7 separate regions of the Homo sapiens genome follow, and regions 2, 3, 4, 5, 6 and 7 are each linked to region 1. The links are contacts of gene promoters, found by promoter capture Hi-C in blood cells and fetal thymus (Javierre and others, 2016). All regions are on one chromosome and are shown on one strand. The core of a region is centred on a gene start or on the middle of the fragment in contact, and the rest is flanking DNA. Distances in the headings are between cores, read along the strand shown. Region 1 holds the start of BFSP2 (beaded filament structural protein 2). Region 2 overlaps NPHP3 (nephrocystin 3). Region 3 overlaps NPHP3 (nephrocystin 3). Region 4 holds the start of ACKR4 (atypical chemokine receptor 4). Region 5 overlaps NPHP3-AS1 (NPHP3 antisense RNA 1). Region 6 overlaps UBA5 (ubiquitin like modifier activating enzyme 5). Region 7 overlaps NPHP3-AS1 (NPHP3 antisense RNA 1).

Evidence for each region. The method cuts DNA at HindIII sites, captures the fragments that hold promoters and counts their contacts. A CHiCAGO score of 5 or more calls a contact.
Region 2: a fragment that was not itself captured here is called in contact with the fragment with the promoter of BFSP2 in region 1 in 1 of 17 cell types (erythroblasts); the score reaches 5.2 in erythroblasts.
Region 3: a fragment that was not itself captured here is called in contact with the fragment with the promoter of BFSP2 in region 1 in 1 of 17 cell types (fetal thymus); the score reaches 5.1 in fetal thymus.
Region 4: a contact is called between the fragment with the promoter of ACKR4 here and the fragment with the promoter of BFSP2 in region 1, in 7 of 17 cell types (total CD8 T cells, naive CD8 T cells, naive CD4 T cells and 4 more). The highest score is 9.8, in total CD8 T cells.
Region 5: a contact is called between a fragment that was not itself captured here and the fragment with the promoter of BFSP2 in region 1, in 7 of 17 cell types (megakaryocytes, naive CD4 T cells, naive CD8 T cells and 4 more). The highest score is 9.3, in megakaryocytes.
Region 6: a contact is called between a fragment that was not itself captured here and the fragment with the promoter of BFSP2 in region 1, in 1 of 17 cell types (megakaryocytes). The highest score is 5.3, in megakaryocytes.
Region 7: a fragment that was not itself captured here is called in contact with the fragment with the promoter of BFSP2 in region 1 in 14 of 17 cell types (megakaryocytes, total CD4 T cells, M1 macrophages and 11 more); the score reaches 11.8 in megakaryocytes.

What each region holds. Positions count from the first base shown.
Region 1 is chr3:133,397,890-133,402,000 of GRCh38, forward strand. It overlaps BFSP2 (beaded filament structural protein 2), which reads left to right and starts at 2,167. Exons shown (of 7, transcript NM_003571.4): 1 at 2,167-2,683. The coding sequence starts at 2,195. The HindIII fragment of the contact is 8,153 bases long and covers 1-4,111 here.
Region 2 is chr3:132,688,625-132,692,702 of GRCh38, forward strand. It overlaps NPHP3 (nephrocystin 3), which reads right to left. Exons shown (of 27, transcript NM_153240.5): 17 at 4,030-4,078; 18 at 2,568-2,662; 19 at 1,904-2,026; 20 at 450-639; 21 at 26-267. It overlaps NPHP3-ACAD11 (NPHP3-ACAD11 readthrough (NMD candidate)), which reads right to left. Exons shown (of 45, transcript NR_037804.1): 16 at 4,030-4,078; 17 at 2,568-2,662; 18 at 1,904-2,026; 19 at 450-639; 20 at 26-267. Among named protein-coding and RNA genes, the nearest start is that of UBA5, 30 kb to the left of the region's middle. The HindIII fragment of the contact is 212 bases long and covers 1,145-1,356 here.
Region 3 is chr3:132,705,765-132,709,852 of GRCh38, forward strand. NPHP3 (nephrocystin 3) reads right to left here. Exons shown (of 27, transcript NM_153240.5): 7 at 2,337-2,493; 8 at 1-50. It overlaps NPHP3-ACAD11 (NPHP3-ACAD11 readthrough (NMD candidate)), which reads right to left. Exons shown (of 45, transcript NR_037804.1): 7 at 2,337-2,493; 8 at 1-50. Among named protein-coding and RNA genes, the nearest start is that of NPHP3-AS1, 14 kb to the right of the region's middle. The HindIII fragment of the contact is 164 bases long and covers 2,466-2,629 here.
Region 4 is chr3:132,595,952-132,599,786 of GRCh38, forward strand. It overlaps ACKR4 (atypical chemokine receptor 4), which reads left to right and starts at 1,319. Exons shown (of 2, transcript NM_016557.4): 1 at 1,319-1,372. All of the region lies in intron 13 of ACAD11 (acyl-CoA dehydrogenase family member 11), which reads right to left. All of the region lies in intron 39 of NPHP3-ACAD11 (NPHP3-ACAD11 readthrough (NMD candidate)), which reads right to left. The HindIII fragment of the contact is 3,278 bases long and covers 1-2,325 here.
Region 5 is chr3:132,757,965-132,762,182 of GRCh38, forward strand. The region is part of intron 3 of NPHP3-AS1 (NPHP3 antisense RNA 1); the gene reads left to right. Among named protein-coding and RNA genes, the nearest start is that of NPHP3-ACAD11, 38 kb to the left of the region's middle. The HindIII fragment of the contact is 5,036 bases long and covers 12-4,218 here.
Region 6 is chr3:132,672,381-132,676,600 of GRCh38, forward strand. UBA5 (ubiquitin like modifier activating enzyme 5) reads left to right here. Exons shown (of 12, transcript NM_024818.6): 9 at 2,868-3,003; 10 at 3,225-3,300; 11 at 3,437-3,543; 12 at 4,063-4,220. The coding sequence ends at 4,146. The region is part of intron 26 of NPHP3-ACAD11 (NPHP3-ACAD11 readthrough (NMD candidate)); the gene reads right to left. Among named protein-coding and RNA genes, the nearest start is that of UBA5, 14 kb to the left of the region's middle. The HindIII fragment of the contact is 1,347 bases long and covers 578-1,924 here.
Region 7 is chr3:132,740,768-132,744,979 of GRCh38, forward strand. All of the region lies in intron 3 of NPHP3-AS1 (NPHP3 antisense RNA 1), which reads left to right. Among named protein-coding and RNA genes, the nearest start is that of NPHP3-ACAD11, 20 kb to the left of the region's middle. The HindIII fragment of the contact is 6,523 bases long and covers 1-4,212 here.

The DNA.
Region 1 (4,111 bases), core at 917-3,416:
TGAGTTTTATGTATGTGATGAGCTAATAGGATTAGCAGTTTATCATTTGATAAAATAAATCTTTTTGAACATGTTTGCAGTTTCTCCAAAACAGACTCATCTTTCATCAGGTCTTTGGAGACAGTGGTGTCAAAGTACATCCCCCCCTCTTTCTCCCTGTCTCCAGGGCTGAGTGGATTTATATAGTAAATATCTTTGGTCCGGAGAAGTCTGAAGTTAACCTGGCCATTGAGTGTTACCATTCTGTAGAGAATAACAATGCCTAAACATGACACATTTGTGCACAACTTAATCAGTAGCCTGAACTTTTCATTCAGCCTTGGACAATACATCTTGGAATTCACAATAATGCAGATCCTCAGAACCAAGTCAGTGTCATCCGTATAGGAGGCTGTTACTGTAACACAGGCTCGCATGCCCCTTCTGGGTGCATCAGGGGTGGTGTTCACAGCATTAATGCTACATCTGAATAAACAAGGACACTACTGGCCTTTACTTAATCCAATTGGTTCTTTCATCTGTTCATCAAATAGCCAACACTGATATTTATAAAATACCTCCCAGGCCATCTCAGAGAGACAAAGTGGAAGACAATAAAGAAAGGAAGGGTTGGAGTGTCCTGGTCAGTAGGAAGGAAGTGCACACAGGGTCCTCTAGTAGGCGACCAGGTTTTTTACCTCTACCTGCGTGACCTCAGGTAGGTACTCTGCTCTCTGGGTGGTGGGCAACAGGGAGGCTCCTAAGTAAGTCAGTGGCCCAGAGTTTGGAAGAGGTTGTCTGCCCCCAGCTCTGCTACTTTCTGGACATAGAACCTTGGGCAAGTCATTGCAGCTCTCGGGGTCCTCCTCACATAAGAGGACAGTGGCCAACTGTAGGACATGTCATTTTAGAGCTGTGAGGTACACAGCCCATATGGCAGTACCTGTCAACCCTGGACCTCCTTCCTCCTGAGGTTGAGTTGAGAATTCCACGAAATAAACCATAGGATTCATGCACACACCAGGCTGGATCTGCTACTCACTAGAGATTGACTCCCTTCTCCTTCTCTCACCTGAGGTACATTCCTACATTACAGCATCTGGAAAAGTATCCAGCTCTGGGGTTTGGTGACCTGGTTTCTCCAGGGTAAAACTTATGTACAGAGGTTTTTAGGTCCATGTTGTCATCCTGTAACTGGGGGAACCTTTCTGATCCTAGAGAAGTGATTGAGGTGTGACCCTTGGTGGCTTAGTGGATGCCAAGGTCAATAATTAAAACCCAGGGGTGTCATCATATCCTAACTTGGGGCACCCTTGGAGAGGCTTACCAGAAAACACCCTCGTTGTTGTTTTTATTTCTCAGTTTTCCAACAGATGGAGAAGCAGAGGTGTAGGGAATGGCCGGAACATGTGTGGGATCTGAATTTGCCCAAGGTCCTTATCTGGTGCATCAGAGAGTTAAAGGCCCAAGCCAATGTTCAGACAGTGAGGTCCAGAGGGAGGAAGCATCCTGGCCAACAGCAAGCAGCTGATGAACAGCAGAGCATTAGAGGACAGAGATGAGGAGGAAAGGAGAGAGGTGAGGGAAGGACCTGAAGCTGCTGCCAGGACTGAGAGAGGAAACCATAGGCAAGTCTTTTCTCTTGGGTCCCTGGAGCTGCCTCCTGCCATTTTTCATCCTCTATTGCCTGTGTGGACATGTGTTCACATTCACATGTGCCAGCACACATAGGGATGTAGAAAGCCCTGAAATAGCTAGATTGAGTCCTAGCTTGTAATCTGAGGTCTGGGGCAAGTGATCAGTACACTTGTCATCTGAGGTCCTTGAGCCTCAGTTTACTCATCTGTAAAATGGGGTTGCTTGATGCCTGCCTTGCCCACTTAGGTAGTAAAATGCACAAACCCAAATGGTCTACCTCCACAGCCTGCACTGATCCAGCCTCCCCCACCACCAGCAGAATAATCTGGGAGGTTGGGCACATGACCCTGCATCAAAGAATGCATGAGTGCCTCTCTGCACACAGCCCTGGGCAGTGCCCATTTCTCTTTCAGCTCAGTGAATGATGGAAACTCATGGAAGACAGCAGACAAAGCAGCCCCAGGGATAGGGGAGATTCCAGAGAGGCCCGTGACCAGGCCACAGGGATGCTGGGGCTGTAAACCAAAAGCCACTGGACTCTGTAAACCCACTGGGCACCACAGAGGCAGAAGGGGTGATGAGTGAGAGGCGAGTGGTAGTGGACTTGCCCACCAGTGCCAGCTCCAGCATGCCCCTCCAGAGGCGCAGGGCGTCCTTCAGGGGGCCACGGTCATCATCCTCCCTGGAGAGCCCCCCAGCCTCCAGGACCAATGCCATGAGTGGCCTTGTCCGAGCACCCGGGGTCTATGTAGGAACAGCACCCAGTGGGTGCATAGGTGGCTTGGGTGCCCGTGTGACCCGCCGGGCCCTCGGCATCAGCAGTGTCTTCCTTCAGGGCCTGCGGAGCTCAGGCCTGGCCACCGTGCCGGCTCCAGGTTTGGAGAGGGACCATGGTGCTGTTGAGGACCTAGGGGGCTGCCTGGTGGAATATATGGCCAAAGTGCACGCCCTTGAGCAAGTCAGTCAGGAGCTGGAAACACAACTGCGGATGCACCTGGAGAGCAAAGCCACACGCTCGGGAAACTGGGGTGCCCTACGGGCTTCCTGGGCCAGCAGCTGCCAGCAGGTAAGTGTCCAGGCTGTGCCAAGGGCTTTGCAGAGGGCTGGGAGGGGCTGCTGAAGGCAGCGGGTAGGGTTGTGAGTAGGCTGAGGCCAGAGAAACTGACCATAATCCCCTACACTTTCACACTTAAAATGGTAATGATAACAACAATGCTACCTTTTACCGAGGTTTACTAGGAGCCCACGCTAGCCCCCATACGTGCACTACCCACTGTCTTCTTTAAACTTCAAAGAAATGCTATGCAGTGGATCATTCACTGATTGCATTTTTCAGATGAGAAACTGAGGCATGTAATTTGCCCAAGACTTCAAAGCTAGTAGAGGGATGGAGATGAGATTTGAACCTGAATTTTTGTGCCTCCAAAGTTGCATTTGCCCCATTACCCTGGGGCTGCCTCAGTCACCTTTACTGTTGAGAAGGGATTTTTACAGCTATTATCCAATCAAATACCATTGGATGGATGAGGTGTTAAGAACAATGAATAAATGGAGGTGTGTTCCTGTATCCACCTACAACCACGCTGTTCAATAGAAATATGAACTACATTGGTAATTGACAAGTTTCTATTACCCACAGTAAAACACGTAAAAAGAAGCAGGTGAAGTTAATATTATAGCTTATTTAACTCTATATGTCCAGAATGTTATTTCAACATGTAATCAATACAAAATATATTAATGAGGTAATTTACATTCAAGTAGAGCTTTCTGCGTGATGGAAATATTAATATCTTATATCTGCACTGTCCAATCTGGCAGCCACTAGCCATATATGGCTATCAAGCACTTGAAATGTGGCTAATGAGACTGAGGAATTGCATTTTTATTTTATCTAATTTTCATTAATTTAAATGTAAACAGCCACAGGTAGCTAATGGCTATCTTATTGGACAGGGAAGGATGCAGAGGTTTCATCTTTCTCCCTTGCTTGGTCAGCCCTGCTTTTCCCACTCTCCAGGGTGATTTCTGCGGAGTCTGGAGCACATCCATCATGTCTGGCCTGCAGCCTGTAGTTCTAATGCTGGGACTCCAGCCAGCATTACACCTCTCAGCTGGTCTCTCTGTGGATAGCTGGCTTCACCTCTCCTCCTCCTCTTTCTCTCCAGATGCTGGCCTTGGGATCCCTCTGAGCAAAATCAGTCTCTAACCCACCAGGGACTGCCAACTCAGACCCTTGGCCCCCTGGAGTCCAGTATGCAGCCTCCCAAGAGGAGGTCACAAAATTTTATTTGTGTATAGCTGGGGGAAGCTAAGCAGTTGCACACAGGGACTCCCCATTTGCCCCTCCTGCCTCCCACTTCATCCCAGGATGCTTCTCCTGCACTGCTGTCAGTGCCCACTGACAGCACAGAGTGCATGATGAACAGCACCATCCTCTCAGGCTCTCCCCCTGGTGCTGCTGTTCTGCTTGCATCCATCTGGGCTGCAAGGG
Region 2 (4,078 bases), core at 1-2,500, 710 kb before region 1:
GTATTACTGATCTAAAAAATCTTACTTATTTTGTTTCTGGTACAAAGTTGCAAGTGCTTCAAGTTCACGAGCAGTATATGGATGGTCCGCACCATAAGCATTTTCTGAGATTTCCAACGCCTGTTTATACAGTTGTTCTGCATTGCCAAACTTCTTCCACTGCACGTATACACTTGCTAGTTGGTGGAGGGACTGGGCTACTCTTGGGTGATCGGGATCTAAAGCTGTTTCTCGAATCTCTAAAGACCTCTGCAAAGGTACTATGGCCTGGGGGGAAAAGGGGTGAAAGGCCAGTTAAAGTGAGTGAAATGCTGCAAGATCTGTCATCTGATTAAATATTAAGGATTATAGCACAACAAATGAAAACCACATTAACATCTTGGAAAAAGAGAAGAGTGAACACAAAAATCCCACCTGTCTCTGGCTTGCCATTGATCTGCTGAGCTTACCTGACTGAGAAGGCCTAGATCCTTGAGAAATCGCCCCAAGGTTTCATAAAGATCAGCTAAGCAACTCATGTTGTCCTCGCCTTCGCAGTTTTTCTCATACTGCTTCAATGAATCGAAGTATTCTGTTGCCATTGCACTTTTGTCTTTGCCAACAAACTGCCAATAACTCAGCAACTCAGCAAAGTGTCCCCTGTTTCAACAAATAACAGTACTTTAATGAAAAACACACTTTAAAATCCATTACAGAATCAAAACTCCAGAATTAATATCAAGTTATTGACAATTTATTAGTAGGCGAGTACTGTGTAATGAGGTAAGACTCAGACCACTCACTATCTGAATTCCACCACTATCCTAGCTATGTAATCTTGAGCAGGTTATCTGACCTCTTAGACCTCATCACCTTCATCTGCAGAAATGGAGACACTACCTGCCTCAGCTGGTACTGTAGGGGGATTATGGCACACAGTAAGTACTCCACGGTGTTGGCTGTTATCCTTAATACCATCATGGCTACTTACCAATGGGAATCTATCTGAATCCTTTTTACACATTTCACAATATGGAGCCAACCACTGAGTTCACTCCCAAAATTATTTTAAGTATGGAAATTCAAAGAGAAGAAACTAATAAAAAATAAACTGTCACAGAGTATCTACTTTGTATTTTCATCAAGAAATTGAATGACAAAAGTAAGCTTATTCATCTGTAGGCGATCTTAAGTAGTATGGGGCTGGTAAACTAAAAAATATCTGATTTCAAAGGAATCATGAAAAATTGGAATGGAGATCAGAAATAAGAGATGCAACAAATTTGAGAGAGTTTATGTAGGAGCAAAATAAATTATGATACTTATTGTATAAGAAATGTCTAAATCTCTAAGTAAGGCAGAAAAAAACCCTCATGAAGCTTAGTAGGTTAGACAGTTGCCTCATAAAAAGGTAGTTCTGCCACTGACAAACTATAACATATCAAAAGAGACAAACAGAATACATTTTTGAATTAGGGTAATTCTTTCTTTAAATTCAACACCAGACATAGAAAGTAAACAAACAAACAAAAACAAATAAATTCAACACCAGACAGATTCTACTTGGACCCGAGTCTGGTTTGAAGGCTACGCTTTCAGATATCTGAAGGCCCAAAGAAGCAGACATTACGAACCACCTCTCTGAGTGGTTTAAATTTAGACATGCTTAAATGTAAGCATAAGATAAAAAGTTGAACCGAAATCATTCCAGCTCTGATTTCATAAAGCAGCAGTACTCTATGTTTTCCTCTTGGGAAAAGCAGATCTAATAGAGATTTGTAAATTGTCTCAAGATTTCTCCTACACTATTTGTATTTCAGATACTTAGACTAATTTTTAAATTAAAAATACCATTTTTTCTTTGTTAAACTGAACAACTTTAAATCTCTCTTTCTGGGGAAAGATGTTCTATAATGTTTCTTACCTTTTATAAAGGTTTTGAGACACAAAGAGATTAAGAAGGCAATCATGCAGCTTCTGTTTACTTCCCTGCTGCTGAAAAAGCCACGGGAGTTCATCTGCACTTCTCCAAGTCACTCTGTCCTGACTATCAAAAGAGAGGAGACAATATTCAATATCTTCCTACAATGAGACTGCTTCAAAAAGGCTTCAGGCAAATGTCAAAGGAAGAAAAATATTTAACATATATCTCTGATTCTTTAAGTATAATTTAATACTAAAAAAGTTAGGTCAAAATCAGAGACTTTACCAATCTAAGAAAATAAATTCAGTGATATGCAGAACCATCAACCAAACTCTAAAAGTATTTTCCTAAAATTGAACTATTTAAAAAAACACTCAATGGACCCGTATATACACATACAGATACATGGACACAAACTATTGGAATAAAATAAAAATAATAAAATGATCCTACATTGATTTTCCTTGTTTAAACTTTTAGCATAATATTAAAAGACAAAATCATCTTTTGCTCTTTTGACATTAACAGAATAGGGAGAGGATTTAATCTTTTTTGTAATAATTAAGTTTTTGTACTTTAAGTTGTAAGCTAAGAAACAGAAATAAGGACACAAAGGTAGTGTGTTGCAGAAGTTACAGAAGAACAACAGGAACATTTACAATACCTTAGCTGCAAGGTGAAATAGTTGATTAGCTTTTGCCTGTATGAAGAAGTAACAGTGGGGCCTTCCAGGTACTCCAATCTCACTGTTTCCCAAGCCTAGGGAGAAAAAGAAGAAATACTGAGTTCTATTTCACGTAAGTCACTGTACATCTAACAAGAGATTTGCAAAAAAGAATTTATAATTATTCCTATTTTATAGCTGTATAATAGAAATGTCACTTAAATGTTTTTAAATTTAGGACATATTTATTTGATAAACTGTTACTAGAATAAAAATTTCTGTACTAATATTTATAAGCTCAAAACACAATTTAATTCAAACTTTAGTTAATACATTAAAAATCTCAGAAGTGTGGAATGAAAAGTTACTAAAAAGAATAAATTATATTCAAACAATACACAATAAAGAAAGGAAAAAGGCTGTGAAATTGCAAACATTTCACATCTACAAATATGATACAGCATACTCAAATGTAAGACTTCATTTACAATTGTATATATATATAAATCAACCATGGCATTGCAGATGATAGGAATTATTTTAGCCAAAACTTCCTAAAGATTTACTTCTATGTGCTAAACATCTTTCTAGTACCTCACAAGGACCAAGAACGACCTCAATTAATTTGCTTCACAACCCCTTTCATAAACTGCCAAAGTCCGCCTGGGGCTTAGATCTTGCCCAAGTTTAGATAGGCATTAATCCATGAAAAGGAGGCTGACTGGCTTACAGAGTCCAAACTCTTAATACATATACAGTCATGTGCACATAACAATGTTTTGGTCAACAACAAACTGCATACATGATGATGATCCTATAAAATTATAATGAAGCTGCCCTATACAGGCATACCGTTTTAAAACTTTCATACCACATTTTTACTGTAACTTTTCTGTATTTAGATACACAAATACTTACAGTTACACACAGTATTCAGTACAGTAATATGCTGTGCAGGTTTGTAGCCTGGGAGCAATAGGCCATACCATATAGCCTCCATGTGTGGTAGGCTGTACCATCTAGATTTGTGTAAGTACGCTCTACAATGCTCACACAATGATACAATCACCTAATGATGTGTTTCTCAGAACATATCCCCATTGTTAAGCAATGCATGACTGTATAATAATACCGCAATTCAATGAAACATAATTGAAAAAGACTTTTTTTCTCTTCAAGAAATAAACTACCTTTAAGAAACTTTTTTTGATCTTTTGTGTCTGACTTATTTTTTAATTTTAAAAATTGTATTGTGGTAAGACCACTTAACGTGAGATCTACCCTCTTAATAAATTTTTAAGTGTACTACAGTATTGTTAACTATAGGGACAATGTTGTATAGCAGATCTTTAGAATTTATTCCTTTGGCAGAAATAATCTTGCCACTGCACTCCAGCCTGGGTGACAGAGAAGACCCTGTTTCTTAAATAAATAAATAAAAAGATGCCTAAAATAACATTACCTGCAGATGTTGAAACCTAAGCAAGCCACATCCATAAGTCAACAAACAC
Region 3 (4,088 bases), core at 1,298-3,797, 690 kb before region 1:
ATATAAGTTTTATATACTCCTTCTGCAGGATCTCCTGAGTGATCAATGATCTAGATAAAAATCATTTAAGAACAATGAGAAAAACCATAATATCAGAAGGAAGTGGTGGTAAATACTTTTATACTGCTTATGTGACAGGAACTATTCTAAATATTTAACACATATTAGCTAATTTATCTTCACAACAACCTTAGGAGGGAGATACTATTATTATCCCCATTTTATAGAAGAGTAAACTGAGGCAAAGTAAGTAACTTGTCCAAGGTCACACAAGGGATTTAGTGTGAAAAATGGAGCAATAAAACAAGAAGTAGGCCAGGCGCGGTGGCTCATGCCTGTAATCCCAGCACTTTGGGAGGTCGAGGTGGGCGGTTCACGAAGTCAGGAGATCAAGACCATCCTGGCTAACATGGTGAAACCCCATCTCTACTAAAAATACAAAAAATTAGCCGGGCGTGGTGGCCGGTGCCTGTAGTGCCAGCTACTCAGGAGGTTGAGGCAAGAGAATGGCGTGAACCCGGGAGGCGGAGCTTGGAGTGAGCTGAGATCGCTCTACTGCACTCCAGCCTGGAAGACAGAGTAAGACTCTGTCTCAAAAAAAAAAACAAAAAACAAAAAAAAAACCAAGAAGTATACATTTTTTTTTTGCTCTGTCTCCAAATTTTCTCTTATGTATTTCCATACCACTCAACATATTTACCCTTCAAAATGCATCAAAATCCAATTTTATGTCAATAAAGCTATAATTCTATAAAAGACAAAAGCAAAATAGTATACTATGTAGTCTCACTGAGCTGGCTGAAAGAAGAATGCCCAATCTGTAAGAACATGTCTACTACTACTACTAATATTTGATACAATTAGAATAAGGCAATGATTTTACAATACATACCAAGTGAACAAGCATGGAGATTTACCCTACATTTACATTTATAATCATGGCAGAGAGATCTTATTTCACTCCTATTTTATAAAATAAACTCATCCTTCCAGCATACTAAATTTTTTAAAGTAAAGGTTATAGAATAAATAGAATAAAAAAGATAAATTAATATCTTTTTTGTGGGACGTAGTGGACTAGGCTGATACTACAATAATTAAAACAAAGAATGAAATGGCTCTGGAAATTATAATAAAAATGCACTTCCTTTTTGTCTTAGTCTCTTTAGTTTTATGTGTCATGCTGCTCTCAAGCTATCTTTTCAATACTAAATGATGGAAAGAAAAATGCTTGTATTCATATTTGATTTTATTTCTTGGCTGGGCACAGGGAAGTGAAAACTCTGTAAAAATCCTAGAGTTGTTTTCAATTGTATTATTCACATTAACTACAGACATTTACCAAGTTGCCTCCGTGTACAGTAATAAAAAGCCTGTAATATGTATTCTAAAAATTATCCCAACATGCATCTAGGAATGATCAAATTTCTCTCATCCCATCATCAGCTTTTTGCTTTCCCCAATGCTCTTAGGAAAAGTCACTATAAAAAGTCTCCTCCTGCAGCGTGGACAACATAATAAGTCCCCATCTCTATAAAAATTTTAACAAAGTAGCCAGGCATGGTGGCCTGTGCCTGTAGTCCCAGCTACTCAAGACACTGAGGTGGGAGGACTGCTCGATCTCTGAGTCCAGGAGTTTGAGGCTTCAGTGAGATATGAACAAGCTACCACACTCCAGCCTGGGTGACAGAGTGAGACTCTGTCTCTTAAAAAAAAAAGTCTCCTCCTGACACTAATCCTTGGTCAGTAGACAGAAGAACTCTGTGCTTGGGAGAAAAGCACAAAATACCATCTGATCATACAGATCATACTCTTGCTAGCCACACACTGCGATTTATTTCTCTCTCTTTTCTCACAACCCACAACCAATCTGTTAAGAAATCCTATTGGCTCTACTGTCAAAATTTACTCAGAATCCTACCACTTCTCATCATTTCCTCTACCACCACCCTGCTTGGAGTCACCAGCATCTCTCACCTGTATGATGGCAATGGCTCTCAGACTCTGCACACTACCCCTGAATGACCACCTATTCTCAACATGGCAGCCAGAAAGATCACTGTCAGATGATCACGCCAGCCCTCATTCTGTTGCTTATAGTCCTGCAGTGGCTCCCAATCTCACTCCAAGTGAAAAGCTAATATCCTCAAAATGGCCTCCGAGGTTCTTCACAATCAATGAGGCCCCCTCTCCTCCTACTCCCCTCACTTATCTGTTCCAGCCACACTGGTTTCTCTCCCCTCCCCAGATATGCCAGGCTTATGCCCACCTCATGGCCTTTGCTCCAGTTTTTCCCTCAGCTAAGTGTGTTTTTCAAAAATGCCTATGAATTTTACCTTGGCTTTGCTGGTCTTGTTTAGATTAGAAACTTGATCAATCAATTGCTGGACAGAGTCAGAACTGACTTTTCCATCTTCCAAACGATGAAAGATTAATCGAGGTTTTCCTTCAGGGTTTTTCAGAAAAGCTTCTTCACAGTCTTCCAATAAAAGGCTAGATTGGAAATCAGCATTTTGTGTGCTATACTGCATTGTGGCAGCAAGCAGTTAGTTAATCAACCTAAGTGCCAATAATGGAGTTTTACTACAGTGACAAGTGGCCAGAAAAGGTCCAACTGCACAACAAGTGAAGCTTTCCAAAAATGGATGTGTTATGGCTCTCTTCCAGTTTGGTCTTAAAATATAATACATTCATTAGCCAACAGTGAGCATAAATATAATAAATTATGCATTAAATTGTAAAGCACATAAAACTTTATTTTTTAAACCTAAAAAAGATCTCAAAAATACTCTTAAACTTGGCTCAAAATAATGGACTAGACTCATGAGACTTTGAAAATAGATGGCAAACAAAATTCCATTTAAAAATGTATAATTTCCATGTTAACACAAGTAGGCAGGAGGTCATGCGTGGGTAGGTACACAGGCACCATCCAGGGCAACAGCCAGGCTCCTGCACTGCTTTTCCAGGAGTTCTTTTTAATGCCTTTAATTTGACCCGCCTCCCTTCATGGCTGAATCACAGGAGAAATCTCTTACAATGAAACATAGGAGCTAAAATATGGCATGTCCAGGAGAGGCCTTTATTCCAGATAAAGGTTTCAAAATGAGGAATTCTTTGCTCTTGATTGGCCCTCCTTCATTATGTCAGCACCCTTCTTGGGCAGACCAGGCTCACTAAGAATTCTTGAACCTATGTAGAAGGAGAGGTGCTTCTCTGTTTGGATGGCAGCCCCAAAGTTTTGAGAGTTTTCTCTTTCCCAGTTCTTTCAGACTTTTCTCATCTAATAAATGACCCTAATCCTTATACCCAATATATACTACAGGAAAGATCTGGAGACAGATTGGAAGAGGTTGGGTGACTGAGGTGAAGGTAAAAAAAATCCCAAAAAACAACTTTGTTATAGGGAACCAAAATTATATTTTTAATGAAAATTCTAGAAAAAAAAGTCCTAGAACTAATAATCTGCTGAGGTCTTCTCTCTCCCTCCCTTCTTTCTTTCTCTCCCTTTTTTTTTTTTTTTTTTTTTTTTTTTTGAGACAGGGTCTCACTCTGTCACCCAGCCTGGTGTGCAGTGGTGCAATCACAGCTCACCGCAGCTTTAACCTCCTGGGCTCAAGCGATCCTCCCACCTCAGCCTACCGAGTAGCTAGGCCCACAGGCACACGCCACCACACCCAGCTAATTTTTGTATTTTTTGTAGAGATGGGGTTTCACCATGTTGCCCAGGCAAGTCTTGAATTCCTGGGCTCAAGTGATCCTCTCACCTTGGCCTCCCAAAGTGCTGGGATTATAGGCATGAGCCACTGAGTGCAGCCCACATCTACTGGGGTTTTCTACACAACAAAGGACACTGCGACCAATTCCCCTTTCTAGAAAGCATTAAATGAAAGTTGTCTAGGGAAACAAATGTTTTTGTGGGGGGTGTGTGTGTGTGTATGTGTAGAAGGGCGATATTGTATGATTCAGAATCTGCAAATTAGACTACTAGCCCAAAATATTAAAAATTAAGAAACATTCTGTTGTATATTTCTGCGCCAATCCATTCTACCCAAACCACAGAAGTTTTCTATATTAAAATCACTCTG
Region 4 (3,835 bases), core at 69-2,568, 800 kb before region 1:
TTCTATTATAAAGACACATGCATGCATATGTCCATTGCAGCACTATGCACAATAGCAAAGACATGGAATCAACCTAAATATTTGCCCATCAATGATAGACTGGACAAAGAAAATGTGGTACATATACAGCATGGAATACTATGTAGCCATAAAAAAGAATGAGATCATGTTCTTTGCAGGCACGTGGATGGAGCTGGAGACCATTATCCTTAGCAAACTAACAAAGGGACAGAAAGCTAAATACTGCATGTTCTCACTTATAAGTGGGAGCTAAGATGAGAACACATGGACACATGGAGGGAAACACACTGGGGCCTATCAAAGGGTAGAGGGTGGTAGAGAAAGAGGATCAGGAAAAATAACTAATGGGTACTAGGCTCAATACCTGGGTGATAAAATAATCTGCACAACAAACCCCCATGATACATGTTTACCTGTGTAACAAACTTGCATGTGTACCCCTGAACTTAAAAGTTTTTTTTTAAAAAAGAGAAAAATAGAAAAAATGGCATGGGTCTGAAATAATTTCTGCAGGTGGAGACTGAGCCTGGCCTTGCATGAAAAAATAGATAACTGCCATGCAAATTTGAGGAAAGCCAAGTTCAAATAGACCATGAGGGCCAAATCAGCATAAATTTCTCTTCTTTCTCTAACTTACTTGTGTGGAAATGTGGAAAAAATAAACAGCCTCCCAGACTGAAGGATTTTGAAGGTTCATATTCTAGCTTTGGGAAAAAAGGTAACAAGAAAGCAAGAGAGTTTAAAGCCATGGGAAAATACTCTGGGACAAGGATAGAGAAAGTACAGTGAAGCCAGGAAGACTCTAGTAGTTTAAATAAATATTAAATGATGTGGCATAAAAATGTTAAATTCTATTGCAAATACCTAATGATTACTTATAATTTAATCTTTGATAATTTAGTCTTCAAAAAGATATTTTCCTTGGTTAAAATCATATTTGCTTTCTTCCTTAGGCAAAATAACTTTAGAGAGTATTTCTCTAGATGCTACCTACAAGTGCTGCCTAGATGCCCTCAGGTGGATTCTCCTTCTGGTTCAGCAGTCAGTAGCTCAGCTGCAGGCACTTTCTTGTCCCCTTTGACTAAGTGGAAACTATGAAAGGTCTATAGTTTTTGAAAAAAGATGGATTTTCTCAAATTTGTAACCTAAACCACTTAAGAAGTTGAATTTAACTTCACAGATGGTTTTACAGGAAATAAAATATCAAGTGCTCACAAGGTTAAATTTCAGGAAAGCCTTCTTGGATACAAGATAAAGGCGGGGTGTAAAGTGAAAACAAAAGTAGCTGGAGTTAGGTCATTTGATTTTATACTCTGTACTCAAGACTGCTCCTCTCTGCCGACTACAACAGGTTGGTACTTTATTTCTTTTCTTATTCTGACTTGAATATTTTTTTAAGCCCAAAGATCTTGTATATTTACTTATATAGATGGAGTCTTGATGCATAAAAGTTTAAATGCTTACTTGTAAAAAAAAAAAAAAGGGTTACTTGAAAATAGCTGTACAGTTTAACCTTAAATGAAAATCTTAATATAGCAAGAAGAAAATACGATTTTAAATGCCATTACTTGTCGGTAAAACTTTGTTAAGGAGAAAATAGGTTTTATTATACCACTTTTTTTCACTTTCTTTTACAAGTACTGATTTTTTTTTTATTCTCATGGTAATTATAAAGACACTTAAAAGCGTGTCTATATATCTGCCGGAAGGATCATTTCTGCAAATAATTCCATTTCTACTCTTTTTTACTCACATTTTTAGTAAGATTAATTCTTACTTAAAAATTCCCTTCCTTAATATATTATAATATTTGGCCATATTATTTCTTATCATCAGGTTCAAGATTTTCTGATGAAAGAGAAAGGAAGAACAAGGTTCATACTGTGTTAATAATTAATGCATAAGAACATGAAGACCAGAGTAGTCTTCCAGATTGGAACTTTTTAAGTAACTTTAATGATAAAAAGAGTCATTTAAAAAAGTTGGCACCCGGTTTTTACATAATGAAAGCAATTCTTCTATGTGGTGTCTTTCTTCAGAGCCTTCTTTTCTTTGCTATATTCATTCAAAAAAAGTTAGCAAACATAAGAACATTTCTTTTGAAAATGTACTATAAGTTGGCACACTGTTTTAAAAATAATATTTTCATTATTGATTCTATAAGAATATTTGAGATACTTCAGAGGACAAAAAGAACCCAAGGAAAATAGAAAGGATAAGAAAAAGGAAAACAAAATTCAGCACTATAATAAAAACACTGAAAGTCATTATTTTATACATTCCAAAACTTACGAATTCTGTGCAAGCTTATCTTAATACTACGGGGTGCTAGTAGCCAACATAGTGCAATAACAATGTTGACATAGAAGATTTCTGGCATACTATCTATCCATTCTAGAGTAACAGCTTTATACCTGTTGGCAAAAGCTTTAATTTGACAAATATTTACTGAGAAGCTACTTTGTGCCAGGCACATTAACAAGATTTTATTTACAAACACAAATCAAATAGGTCATGCTTTGAGGAACTTAAAACCTAGAGGAACAAGGTAGTATGGGAAACGCATCCTTTCCACAGAATGGATCAGTTCTCTGAGGGGTATGTAGAGATTGCTAATACATCAGGAAAGTCTTCTGGGGAGGTCGCATCCGCGTTTATTGAGTAGGAATTGGCCCTTCCAGGGAAGGGCAGGAAATTGTATGGTAGATAAAGGAACAGAATGAGCAATGATGTAGACAGATGCTGCTGCATGGTGGGTGCCAGCCCACTGCTGAGAAATTAGTCCTATCACTGTCTCTAGTGTGGACACAGAGTAGGGAGAGGTGGCAGGAGCCATGGATGGCACCACATTATGAAGGGAGCCTTGGGTGTTATGCTAAGGAGCTTGGATTGTGGCTTTCAGGTGAAGAGATGTGTCTTCCAGATGAGGAACAAAACAGAGGAGAGGTAGATTGGCAATTTAGAGATCAAATACTCTGGTGGAAGTAAGAAAAACGTTTTTGAAAAGGAGGTATTGAGGAGGAGTAACAACAGGCTATCAGTTAGAAAGATACTGCTTGGCCAGGTGCAGTGGCTCATGCCTGTTACTCCAACTCTTTGCGAGGCCAAGGCAGGTAGATTGCTTGAGCCCAGGAGTTTGAGACCAGCCTTGGCAACCTGGCAAAACCCCGTCTCTATCAAAAATACAAAAAGTTATACAGACTCATAACCTGGTCAATAAATAAATAAATAAATGGATTAAAATTTAAAAATAGGCTGGGCTCGGTGGCTCACGCCTGTAATCCCAGCACTTTGGGAGGCCGAGGCAGGTGGATCACGAGGTCAGGAGTGCGAGAACAGTCTGGCCAACATAGTGAAACCCCATCTCTACTAAAAATAGAAAAAATTAGCCAGGCATGGTGGTGTGTACCTGTAATCCCAGCTACTTGGGAGGCTGAGGCAGGAGAATCGCATGAACCCGGGAGGCGGAGGTTGCAGTGAGCCGAGATTGTCCACTGCATTCCAGCCTGGGCAACAGAATGAGACTCCATCTCAAAAAAAAAATTAAATATTAAATATTAAAAAAGAAAGATATTGCAGTAGGCTAGGTGAGAAACATAATAGCTGAATTGTGCAAATGTGTGGAAGAGTGCAGATTAAGAGGAGAAGACAGATTCAAGACCTACTTGGAAGGCAGAATCAGAACTTGGGAACTGATTGGGAAGCAGGGATGAAGGTAAGAGAGAAGACAAGAATGAAGCAGGCTTACAGCTTAGATGATTAGAAGATAGTGGTGCTACTAAAAAACAGTATACAATAAGCAAGTAGTGACCAG
Region 5 (4,218 bases), core at 1,280-3,779, 640 kb before region 1:
ATAAACCTGTAAGCTTCATTCACAATTCTGTGTGAATCTACCTTGTCATAAGATTTTTATTTTTGTCTACTTTAAGTTTAGGCTGCAGAGATAACTTGGCTCACTGTGTCATCTTTTAATTATCATAGATATGTCTACGATAGATAATTTAATTAAAACACCTTGAATATATCTGCAAAAATAAAATGAGATATTTCTCGATGTTTTCCAATTATCACCCTGTGAATTTTACAAGAAAGAAGGAGTGTTATATTCAAAGTGGCTCACACCTCTAATCCTAGCAATTTGGCAGGCTGAGGTGGGTGGATTGCTTGAGCCCAGGAGTTTGAGACTAGCCTGGGCAACATAGTGAAACCTTGTCTCCAGAAAAAATGCAAAAATTAATTGAGCATGGTGGCATGCACCCTTAATCCCAGCTACTCAGGAGGCTGAGGTAGGAGGATCACATGGGCCAGGGAGGTGGAGGTGGCAGCGACCAGTGATTGTGCCACTGCACTCCAGCCTGGGCAACAGAACAAGACCCTGTATCAAAAATCAAACAAAACAAAAAAACAAACAATAACTCAACCTCAACAAATGGATATATGAAGAAACTGAGTCATAGAGCAGTGAAATTTCTATCAAAGATTATTCAATGGTGTGGCTACAGAAACTGATAAAACCTTTAGTAGGAAATGAAACACTGCAAATGGATGCAGCTACCTACAGTCAACCTCCATGATCTCCTCCCTGATGATTCTATAATTATTTTTCCTCATTTTGAGTTTTTATCACACACTAAATCACGGTCATTCTTATGTTGTTTATTTTTGTTTAAATGTTGTTTATAATTGTTTAAAATTATTTTTTATCTATGCGTGGTTTTGGACATAGATTGTGGCTGCTAGGGAGCAAGGACTACAACTTTTGTTTATTTTTTATCTCAGTGTATGGGGTTCAGAGATAAGCATGTGCTTAGGGGGCAGTGGATGTTTAGTTGGTTATAATTCTGTGTTTTGTATTTTGTACTGTTTGGAGTGGAAAGCTCCTGATATAACTCTGTTGATTGATGGTCAGTAAAGTAACCCAAGACCAAAGAGGTCTTCTGTCTGAGTCTCTCATCCTGCCATATCTGCAGGAAGGTACTATAGTAGGAAGAGAAGAAAAAGCATGCTTTAGGATAAACTTTTGAAAAACTTAGGTGTCAGAACTTAACAATGGTCTTCCAACTTCAAATTCCATATGTTGTCTACCTGTTCCTTAAAAAACACAGGCTGGGCATTTGGGATATAGGGTCAAATTCCCAAATATCCTGGGAGTGTGTATTATGTACAGAAATATTTTCTAACATTAAAATCAAGAAATGGGAAAACAACTAAAATGCTTTTACAGTGGTTTACAAATTTAAAAAGATAATTGAATATTATAATATTTCAATAGCGAAAGTGATTAAAAAAATTCAAAATCCTGATTAAAAAAAAATCCTTGCCATTGTGGAAATACTCGATTTTTATTTCTTCAGTCAAGTACTTCAGTTTGTATTCCAGTTTATGAGCAGCCAGTTGTTGAAATATTAGTGCCTAGTCAAGGTCAAACATCTCACAGAAGGAACATTATTCTAAAATGCAACACTTCTGTGCAACTGGAGTGTGTATTTCATGAGCAGAATCCATTTGATTGGATTCTCTCATATTCACAAAACCCAGACTCATCTTGAATTGATAGCAAGAATGCTCTCTAACAACTATGGAATCATCTATGATCCACTTCTTTAGATATTACCTCATTTGGCCCTTGGTTGGGTAGAAGAGTCATTATTATTAACATGCATGTTTGAAAGTGAGGATCCCAAAGCCATTGTCAAACAAATTATTGTTCAAGGCACAAGTTCATAAGAGTATTGGAGGGTCATTTAATCAAATGCTTATCATGTGTCAGAATGATCAACTGGCATTAGGTTTTTTATATATTAGATAATGTATAAAAATTATATTTTATATATAAGATAAAGTATATGGGTTAAGAACATGGGTTGTGGTTTCAAATCCCTGTGTGATCTCTACTAATTCTATGACTTTGGGCAAATATAAAAACTTTTAAATATGAAGAAAATAATATCACTTACTTCCTAGAAAATTGAATCAGTTAAGGGATATACGGCTCTTAGCACCTATTTGCCCTCAATAAATAAAGCTCTCAGTAATCTAACCTAAACCACCCCCCCATACACCTTACCACAAACAACAACCCTTTGAGTAGAGCTGTTTTAATCTTCTTTCTTTATAATCACTCCTTGGCTAATCTCATCCAGTCTTATGGGTCCGAATATTGTTTATTCATTGATGGTTTCCGAATGTATATCTCCAATCTGGACCTCTTCCCTGAACTTGTATATCTAACTGCCTACTTGACACCTTCTTCTGTATGACTAATAGGCATCTAAAATGTAACATATCTAGAAATGAGTTCCTGATGTTCTCCTTCATCCAGCAGCTCCTGCAACCTTCCTGCTCCTAGGTCACGGCAATGCCACGCTTCCAGTCACTCAGGCCAGAAACATTGGTGTTCTTGACATCTCTTTACACTGCCTACTTCTCTCTTACACTCAACATTGGGTCTAGAAGTAAAATCTGTTGGTTCTACTTGCAAAATATGTTATCACTGAGTAACATACTATACATCATACAGTTTTTTTTTTCTTTTTTTTTCCATCTTTTTTTTTATTATACTTTAAGTTTTAGGGTACATGTGCACATTGTGCAGGTTAGTTACATATGTATACATGTGGCATGCTAGTGCACTGCACCCACTAACTCGTCATCTAGCATTAGGTATATCTCCCAATGCTATCCCTCCCCCCTCCCCCCACCCCACAACGGTCCCCAGAGTGTGATATTCCCCTTCCTGTGTCCATGTGATCTCATTGTTCAATTCCCACCTATGAGTGAGAATATGCGGTGCTTGGTTTTTTGTTCTTGCGATAGTTTACTGAGAATGATGTTTTCCAATTTCATCCATGTCCCTACAAAGGACATGAACTCATCATTTTTTATGGCTGCATAGTATTCCATGGTGTATGTGTGCCACAATTTCTTAATCCAGTCTATCATTGTTGGACATTTGGGTTGGTTCCAAGTCTTTGCTATTGTGAATAATGCCGCAATAAACATACGTGTGCATGTGTCTTTATAGCAGCATGATTTATAGTCCTTTGGGTATATACCCAGTAATGGGATGGCTGGGTCAAATGGTATTTCTAGTTCTAGATCCCTGAGGAATCGCCACACTGACTTCCACAATGGTTGAACTAGTTTACAGTCCCATCAACAGTGTAAAAGTGTTCCTATTTCTCCACATCCTCTCCAGCACCTGTTGTTTCCTGACCTTTTAATGATTGCCATTCTAACTGGTGTGAGATGGTATCTCATTGTGGTTTTGATTTGCATTTCTCTGATGGCCAGTGATGATGAGCATTTCTTCATGTGTTTTTTGGCTGCATAAATGTCTTCTTTTGAGAAGTGTCTGTTCATGTCCTTCGCCCACTTTTTGATGGGGTTGTTTGTTTTTTCTTGTAAATTTGTTTGACTTCATCGTAGATTCTGGATATTAGCCCTTTGTCAGATGAGTAGATTGTGAAAATTTTCTCCCATTTTGTAGGTTGCCTGTTCACTCTGATGGTAGTTTCTTTTGCTGTGCAGAAGCTCTTTAGTTTAATTAGATCCCATTTGTCAATTTTGTCTTTTGTTGCCATTGCTTTTGGTGTTTTAGACATGAAGTCCTTGCCCATGCCCATGTCCTGAATGGTAATGCCTAGGTTTTCTTCTAGGGTTTTTATGGTTTTAGGTCTAACGTTTAAGTCTTTAATCCATCTTGAATTGATTTTTGTATAAGGTGTAAGGAACGGATCCAGTTTCAGCTTTCTACATATGGCTAGCCAGTTTTCCCAGCACCATTTATTAAATAGGGAATCCTTTCCCCATTGCTTGTTTTTGTCAGGTTTGTCAAAGATCAGATAGTTGTAGATATGCGGCGTTATCTCTGAGGGCTCTGTTCTGTTCCATTGATCTATATCTGTGTTTTGGTACCAGTACCATGCTGTTTTGGTTACTGTAGCCTTGTAGTATAGTTTGAAGTCAGGTAGTGTGATGCCTCCAGCTTTGTTCTTTTGGCTTAGGATTGACTTGGCGATGCGGGCTCTTTTTTGGTTCCATATGAACTTTAAAGTAGTTTTTTCCAATT
Region 6 (4,220 bases), core at 1-2,500, 730 kb before region 1:
TATATTAAATATTACATATAATACATGTGTGCATATTCATACGTGAATATATGTGAATGTCAGTTACTCCCTGCATTTGGAATAGCTTTTATTAAATGATACAATGGTAGTGGCATATTTATTTATGAAACATTAACTGAATGATTTAAATCTTTGCAAGTCTGTCCAGTGGATGGAGACTTAAACACACTTGTTTCTACTATCTTGATTTAAGTCTTACCAAAAATAAACCAATGTGACTAAACAGTAATTATTGTTAATGTAATTAAACATTAGTGTTACTGTAAATTTTACATTTACATAAAATGTTAACATTTATATTAGTGTTAATATAAAACACATTAACAGTACTTAAAAAAGATTCTTGAAATCTGCTTTTAGATACCTCTGCTATCCAAAAACAAATATCCAGCAACTGTACTATCTAAACTGTAGCTAAAAAGAAGGAAAAAGATTTCTTTGCTGCTGAAATTTATGTCACAGTTTATGAATCAACTCATACTTTATTAAAAGCAGAGCCCCTTTAGGTGTTCTCTAATTCAGGCTATTTATTTTCCCTCATTTTACAACTTTAATAAGCTTAGTTGTATTCCCTAAGCCTCCAATATAATAAGAACAAACTGCAACAAGACACAAGGAGGTACCAATCAATAAGAAGTGTCAGTTGCGAGCAAAGAAATTGAAAAAAGCATACATATAAACTCTCAAAGTAATGGTCTAGGGCTATTTCATATAAGAGCAAATAGCCTGTTTAGACAGTAGTAGGCCCTGTCTAAACAAAACATTTTATAGTATGATACAAAAAAGGAGAAAAGAATCATGGCTAACAAAGTATTCCCTTAAGGATGTGTCCTATTTAGCTAGCCCCTCTATTGATGGTCATTTAGGCTACTTAATTCTTTTCTTTTTTATTAACAATGCTATAGGCTACATCTTGTATATATCTTTGAATACTAGATTGATCACTCTTCTTTTTGTTTTTTTGGAGACAAGGTCTCACTGTGTTGCCCAAGCTGAAGTTCAGTGGCTCAGTCATGGCTCACTGCAGCCTCAACCTCCTGAGCTCAAGTGATCCTCCCACCTCAGCCTTCCAAGTAGTTGGAAGTACGAGTGTATGCCACAATGCCTGGCTAATTTTTGTATTTTTTGTAGAGACAAGGTTTCACCATGTTGCTCAGGCTGTTCTTGAACTCCTGAGCTCAAGTAATCTGCCCACCTCAGCCTCCCAAAGTGTTGGGATTACAGGCGTGAGCCACTGTGCCCAGCCTAGAGTTTTCTATAGTACTTTTTTTTTTTTTTTTAAACAGGGTTTCACTCTGTCACCCAGGCTGGAGTGCAGAGGCACAAAGGCACAATCTCGGCTAACTGCAGTCTTCCAGGTTCAAGTGATCCTCCTACCTCAGCCTCCCAGGTAGCTGTGACTACAAGCACCCACCACCACGCCCAGCTAATGTTTTTGTATTTTTTGTAGAAACAAAGTCTCCTTGTTTTCCAGGCTGGTCTTGAACTCCTGGGCTCGAGCAGTCTGCCCATATCGACCTTCTAAAGTGCTAGGAGTTACAGGCATGAGCCACTGCACACGGCCTATAGTACACATTTTTTAAAGTAGAATTTCTGAATTTACGAAATATTTACTAAATTTCTCCTGCAAAAGGATTATACATTTGTATCATAGTTTAGGAGTACCTGGTTCACCCATACCTTTGATAACTTTGAGTATCATCAAACTCTGTAATCTGTCATTCTGGTGGGTAAAAAACAGGCATTTAATTTTTCTTTTTATTTGTGAAAAAGGTTGAACACTTACATTCTTCTGTGAATTATCTGCTAATAGTTGTTGCTCTTTTTTGTCTTGTATATTAAGAATGTGTATTTGCAAATATTTTTGTCATTTATCTTTTTTATGTGATTTTCTCTGTATAGAAGCTTTTATTATGTTAGTGCAAAGGTAATTGTGGATTTTGCCATTACTTTTAACAAAAACTGCAATTACTTTTGCGCCAACCTAATAAAAGACATCAGATTGGCCGGGTGCAGTGGCTCACGCCTGTAATCCCAACAATTTGGGAGGCCAAGGCAGGCGGATTGCTTGAGCCCAGGAATTTGAGACCAGCTTGGGCAACATGGCAAAGCCCCATCTTTACAAAAAAAAAATACAAAAATTAGCCAAGCGTGGTGGTGCTTGCCTGTAGTCGCAGCTACTTGGGAGGCTGAGATGGGATTGCTTGAGCCTGGGAGGGCGAGGCTACAGTGAGCCATGATCACGCCACCTTACTCCAGCCTGGGCAACAGAGTAAAAAGTATCAGATTTGACTGGGAAGAGGGCAGGAGGGAGCTGGAGGCACATGGGATGCTGAAAATGTTCTGTATCTTGATCTGGTGATGGTTACATGAAAGGCTCATACAAAATTTTATTGAGCTATACATTTAAGATTGTGCATTTTATAGTAAGTTACATACAAAATGTTAAAATTAAGTAGCTTTCTTAATTATCTCAGGGATTTAAAAAATACACTTCTCCCACATTTTAGCTTCTCTGAAATCAGCATGCTTCTTGAAGTTGTTGACGTGTAATTGTTTAGCTGCCAGCATTTTATCTTTATTAGAGGTTCAAAAAAATAGTGTGTTCTACAGTTGATGAAATGGAGTAATCTTTTCTTTCCTTCATTCAATAAACACTGAAGTATCTACTATGAGCCAGGCACTGTAAATAAGATAAAATTTCTGTTTTCTGGATGCAGATTTCTGTTTTCTGGTTAAAAAAAATATATAATTACCTATTTCAACGTTATTTTTAAAAAATTTAGGTGTTCTAGTATTTTTCATGTTTTAAATTTCTTTATTTAAGTCTATTTTGATTTTTCTAGGTTTCTGTTAAATTTTGGTACTGTTAGTTTTTACCTTGGATACAATGCAATGCAGGATTTTTTTCCTACTATGTCCATGAAGCCAAATCCTCAGTGTGATGACAGAAATTGCAGGAAGCAGCAGGAGGAATATAAGGTATATGACAATCTGTTAGAATGCATGAGGGATCATATTGAATAGGACAATACATAAACAGATTTGGAATACAAGATAAATGGTTAATTTATTCACCATACTTCAAAAATGAATGTTCTTTCTTGCTTTTGGTAAGATAAAAAGCCTGTCTGAATTCTTGATTAATGCTTTAGAGAACTGAGAATGAGTAAGAACACTTTGATGCTGTTTGATTTCTACAGAAAAAGGTAGCAGCACTGCCTAAACAAGAGGTTATACAAGAAGAGGAAGAGATAATCCATGAAGATAATGAATGGGGTAGGTATTCTTTTATAAATTGAAATGGCAGTATAAAACAAAACCTTTTATGGTAGCAAATCTAATAAGATTATACAAATTGAATAATTATTGCTTATTAAATTCCTTAAAAACTGACATAGGATCAAATTTACAGGTATTGAGCTGGTATCTGAGGTTTCAGAAGAGGAACTGAAAAATTTTTCAGGTCCAGTTCCAGACTTACCTGAAGGAATTACAGTGGCATACACAATTCCAAAAAAGGTACTTCAAAAATATGATTTACCCATATGTAAATATCATATAAAATATTTATCATCTTCATTCTAATTTGTAATGCCAATGAAGTATTTCCTGTTTTAGATATTTTATGCTATAGGCATTAAGATGTGAGAGAGAGGTATGCAGTGTTAATATGCAAATATTTATAGCTTAAACTTTTAAAACATAGAATAAAATGGTTTTGTTCACTCATTAATGAACCAAGTATAGTAGATTTTGATTAAATGAAGATCTCATTTTTGTTTATCGGTAGTTTTAGCTACGATGTCGTTTAAAAAGCTAGAGCTGTCAAGAATATTGAAATTACTGCCTTGTAAATCAAAAGACTGGTGAGGAATGTAAAAGACTCTGTCTTTCTTCTAAAAATTAGAAGATAGTTGTTAAAGAAAATTTACTTTATAACCTTGTTGAGCATGGTCAAAACTTGCTGATTATATATTCCTAAGCATCAAGAATTCTATATGGTTCTTTTTTCACTGTATTTCCCTTATTTGTCAATAGCAAGAAGATTCTGTCACTGAGTTAACAGTGGAAGATTCTGGTGAAAGCTTGGAAGACCTCATGGCCAAAATGAAGAATATGTAGATAATGGACTGGGATATATTGTATTTCTCATGTTAAAGCCTCTTCCCTTGAAATTAAAAAAAAATTTTAACTGA
Region 7 (4,212 bases), core at 133-2,632, 660 kb before region 1:
AATCAAGTATTTTTAAATGTTATTTCATTTGTCCATATTAGCTTGTTACATATTTATGTATTAATCTTCTAGTAGTTATTCTAAACATTTCCACATATATCCTTGGTTATTCAGTTTATCATTATTTAGAACTTTTAGTATTTCATGGATAATGCAAGAATTTAAAAACTGAAACTTCATTTACCCCATTTTCAATTTTTATGCTTTTGTTGTCAAGTATCTTCTTTCTCTATTTTAAGTTTTATCAAACATAACTGTTTTTATATAGTGAGCATTTGTTCATATTGATGTCCTTTCACCGTTTCTGCTGCTCTTCATTCCGTGCTGCTTTCCTCTGCTTCCATTTGGGGCCATTTTCTTTTTCTGTTTCTGTTTCTTTTTTTTTTTTTAATTATACTTTAAGTTCTAGGGTACATGTGCACAACGTGCAGGTTTGTTACATAGGTATACATGTGCCATGTTGGTCTGTTGCACCCATCAACTCATCATTTACATTAGATATTTCTCCTAATGCTATCCCTCCTCCAGCCCCCCACCCACAGACAGGCCTGGGTGTGTGATGTTCCCCGCCCTGTGTCCAAGTGTTCTCATTGTTCAGTTCCCACCTATGAGTGAGAACATGCTGTGTTTGATTTTCTGTCCTTGTCATAGTTTGCTGAGAATGATGGTTTCCAGCTTCATTCACATCCCTGCAAAGGACATGAACTCATCCTTTTTTATGGCTGCATAGTATTCCATGGTGTATATGTGCCACAATTTCTTAATCGAGTCTATCATTGATGGACATTTGGGTTGGTTCCAAGTCCTTCCTATTGTGAATAGTGCCACAATAAACTTATGTGTGCATGTGTCTTTATAGTAGCATGATTTATAATCCTTTGGGTATATACCCAGTAATGGGATCACTGGGTCAAATGGTATTTCTAGTTCTAGAACCTTGAGGAATTGCCACACTGTCTTCCACAGTGGTTGAACTAGTTTACACTCCCACCAACAGTGTAAAAATGTTCCTATTTCTCCACATCCTCTCCAGCATCTGTTGTTTCCTGACTTTTTAATGATTGCCATTCTGACTGGTGTGAGATGATATCTCTTGTGGTTTTGATTTGCATTTCTCTGATGACCAGTGATGATGAGCATTTTTTCTTGTGTCTGTTGGCTGCATAAATGTCTTCTTTTGAGAGGTGTCTGTTCATTTCCTTTGCCAACTTTTCGATGGGGTTGTTTGTTTTTTTCTTGTACGTTTGTTTAAGTTCTTTGTAGATTCTGGATATTAGCCCTTTGTCAGATGGGTAGATTGCAAAAATTTTCTCCCATTCTGTAAGTTGCCTGTTCACTCCGATGGGAGTTTCTTTTGCCATGCAGAAGCTCTTTAGTTTAATTAGATCCCATTTGTCAATTTTGGCTTTTGTTGCCATTGCTTTTGGTGTTTTAGTCATGAAGTCCTTGCCCATGCCTATGTCCTGAATGGCATTGCCTAGGTTTTCTTCTAGGGTTTTTATGGTTTTAGGTCTAACATTTAAGTCTTTAATCCATCTTGAATTAATTTTTGTGTAAGGTGTAAGGAAGGGATCCAGTTTCAGCTTTCTACATATGGCTAGCCAGTTTTCCCAGCACCATTTATTAAAGAGGGAATCCTTTCCCCATTTCTTGTTTTTGTCAGGTTTGTCAAAGATCAGATGGTTGTAGATGTGTGGTGTTATTTCTGAGGCCTCTGTTCTGTTCCATTGGTCTATATCTCTGTTTTGGCACCAGTACCATGCTGCTTTGGTTACTGTAGCCTTAAAGTATAGTTTGAAGTCAGGTAGCATGATGCCTCCAGCTTTGTTCTTTTCGCTTAGGATTGTCTTGGCAATGTGGGCTCTTTTTTGGTTCCATATGAACTTCAAAGTAGTTTTCTCCAATTCTGTGAAGAAAGTCATTGGTAGCTTGATGGGGATGGCATTGAATCTATAAATTACCTTGGGCAGTGTGGCCATTTTCATGACGTTGTTTCTTCCTGTCCATGAGCATAGAATGTTCTTCCATTTGTTTGTGTCCTCTTTTATTTCGTTGAGCAGTGGTTTGTAGTTCTCCTTGAAGAGGTCCTTCACATCCCTTGTAAGTTGGATTCCTAGGTATTTTATTCTGTTTGTAGCAATTGTGAATGGGAGTTCACTCATGAGTTGGCTCGCTGTCTGTTATTGGGGTATAAGAATGCTTGTGTTTTTTGCACATTGATTTTGTATCCTGAGACTTTGCTGAAGTTGCTTATCAGCTTAAGGAGATTTTGGGCTGAGACGATGGGGTTTTCTAAATATACAATCATGTCATCTGCAAACAGGGACGATTTGACTTCCTCTTTTCCTAATTGAATACCCTTTATTTTTGTCTCTTGCCTAATTGCCCTGGCCAGAACTTCCAACACTTTATTGAATTGGAGTGGTGAGAGATGGCATCCTTGTCTTGTGCCAGTTTTCAAAGGGAATGCTTCCAGTTTTTGCCCATTCAGTATGATATTGGCTGTGGGTTTGTCATAAATAGCTCTTATTATTTTGAGATACGTTCCATCAATACCTAGTTTATTGAGAGTTTTTAGCATGAAGGGGTGTTGAATTTTGTCGAAGGCTTTTTCTGCATCTATTGAGATAATCATGTGGTTTTCGTCATTGGTACTGTTTATGTGATGGATTATGTTGATTGATTTGTATATATTCAACCAGCCTTGCATCCCAGGGATGAAGCCCACTTCACTTGATCATGGTGGATAAGTTTTTTGATGTGCTGCTGGATTCAGTTTGCCAGTATTTTATTGAGGATTTTCATATCTATGTTCATCAGGGATATTGGTCTAAAATTCTCTTTTTTTGTTGTGTCTCTACCAGGCTTTGGTATCAGGATGATGCTGTCCTCATAAAATGAGTTAGGGAGGATTCCCTCTTTTTCTATTGTTTGGAATAGTTTCAGAAGGAATGGTACCAGCTCCTCTTTGTACCTCTGGTAGAATTTGGCTCTGAATCCGTCTGGTCCTGGACTTCTTTTGGTTGGTAAGCTATTAATTATTGCCTCAACTTCAGAGCCTGTTATTGGTCTATTCAGAGATTCAACTTCTTCCTGGTTTAGTCTTGAGAGGGTGTATGTGTCCAGGAATTTATCCATTTCTTCTAGATTTTCTAGTTTATTTGCGTAGAGGTGTTTGTAGTATTCTCTGATGGTAGTTTGTATTTCTGTGGGATCGGTGGTGATATCCCCTTTATCATTTTTTATTGCATCTATTTGATTCTTCTCTCTTTTCTTCTTTATTAGTCTTGCTAGTGGTCTATCAATTTTGTTGATCTTTTCAAAAAACCAGCTCCTGGATGTATTGATTTTTTTGAAGGGTTTTTTGTGTCTCTATCTCCCTCAGTTCTGCTCTGATCTTAGTTATTTCTTGTCTTCTGCTAGCTTTTGAATTTGTTTGCTCTTGCTTCTCTAGTTCTTTTAATTGTGATGTTAGGGTGTCAATTTTAGATCTTTCCTACACTTTCTCTTGTGGGCATTTAGTGCTATAAATTTCCCTCTACACACAGCTTTAAATGTGTCCCAGAGATTCTGGTACGTTGTGTCTTTGTTCTCATTGGTTTCAAAGAACATTTTTATTTCTGCCTTCATTTCGTTATTTACGCAGTAGTCATTTAGGAGCAGGTTGTTCTATTTCCGTGTAGTTGTGTGGTTTTGAGTGAGTTTCTTAATCCTGAGTTCTAATTTGATTGCACTGTGGTCTGAGAAACAGTTTGTTGTGATTTCTGTTCTTTTACATTTGCTGAGGAGTGCTTTACTTCCAATTATGTGGTCAGTTTTAGAATAAGTGTGATGTGGTGCTGAGAAGAATGTATATTCTGTTGATTTGGGGTGGAGAGTTCTGTAGATATCTATTAGATCCACTTGGTGCAGAGCTGAGTTCAAGTCCTGGATATCCTTGTTAACCTTCTGTCTCATTGATCTGTCTAATATTGACCATGGGGTGTTAAAGTCTCCCACTATTATTGTGTGGGAGTCTAAGTCCTTTTGTAGGTCTCTAAGGACTTGCTTTATGAATCTGGGTGCTACTGTATTGGGTGCATATATATTTACGATAGTTAGCTCTTGTTTTGAATTGATCCCTTTACCATTTTGTAATGGCCTTCTTTGTCTCTTTTGATCTTTGTTGGTTTAAAGTCTGTTTTATCAGAAACTAGGATTGCAACCCTTGCC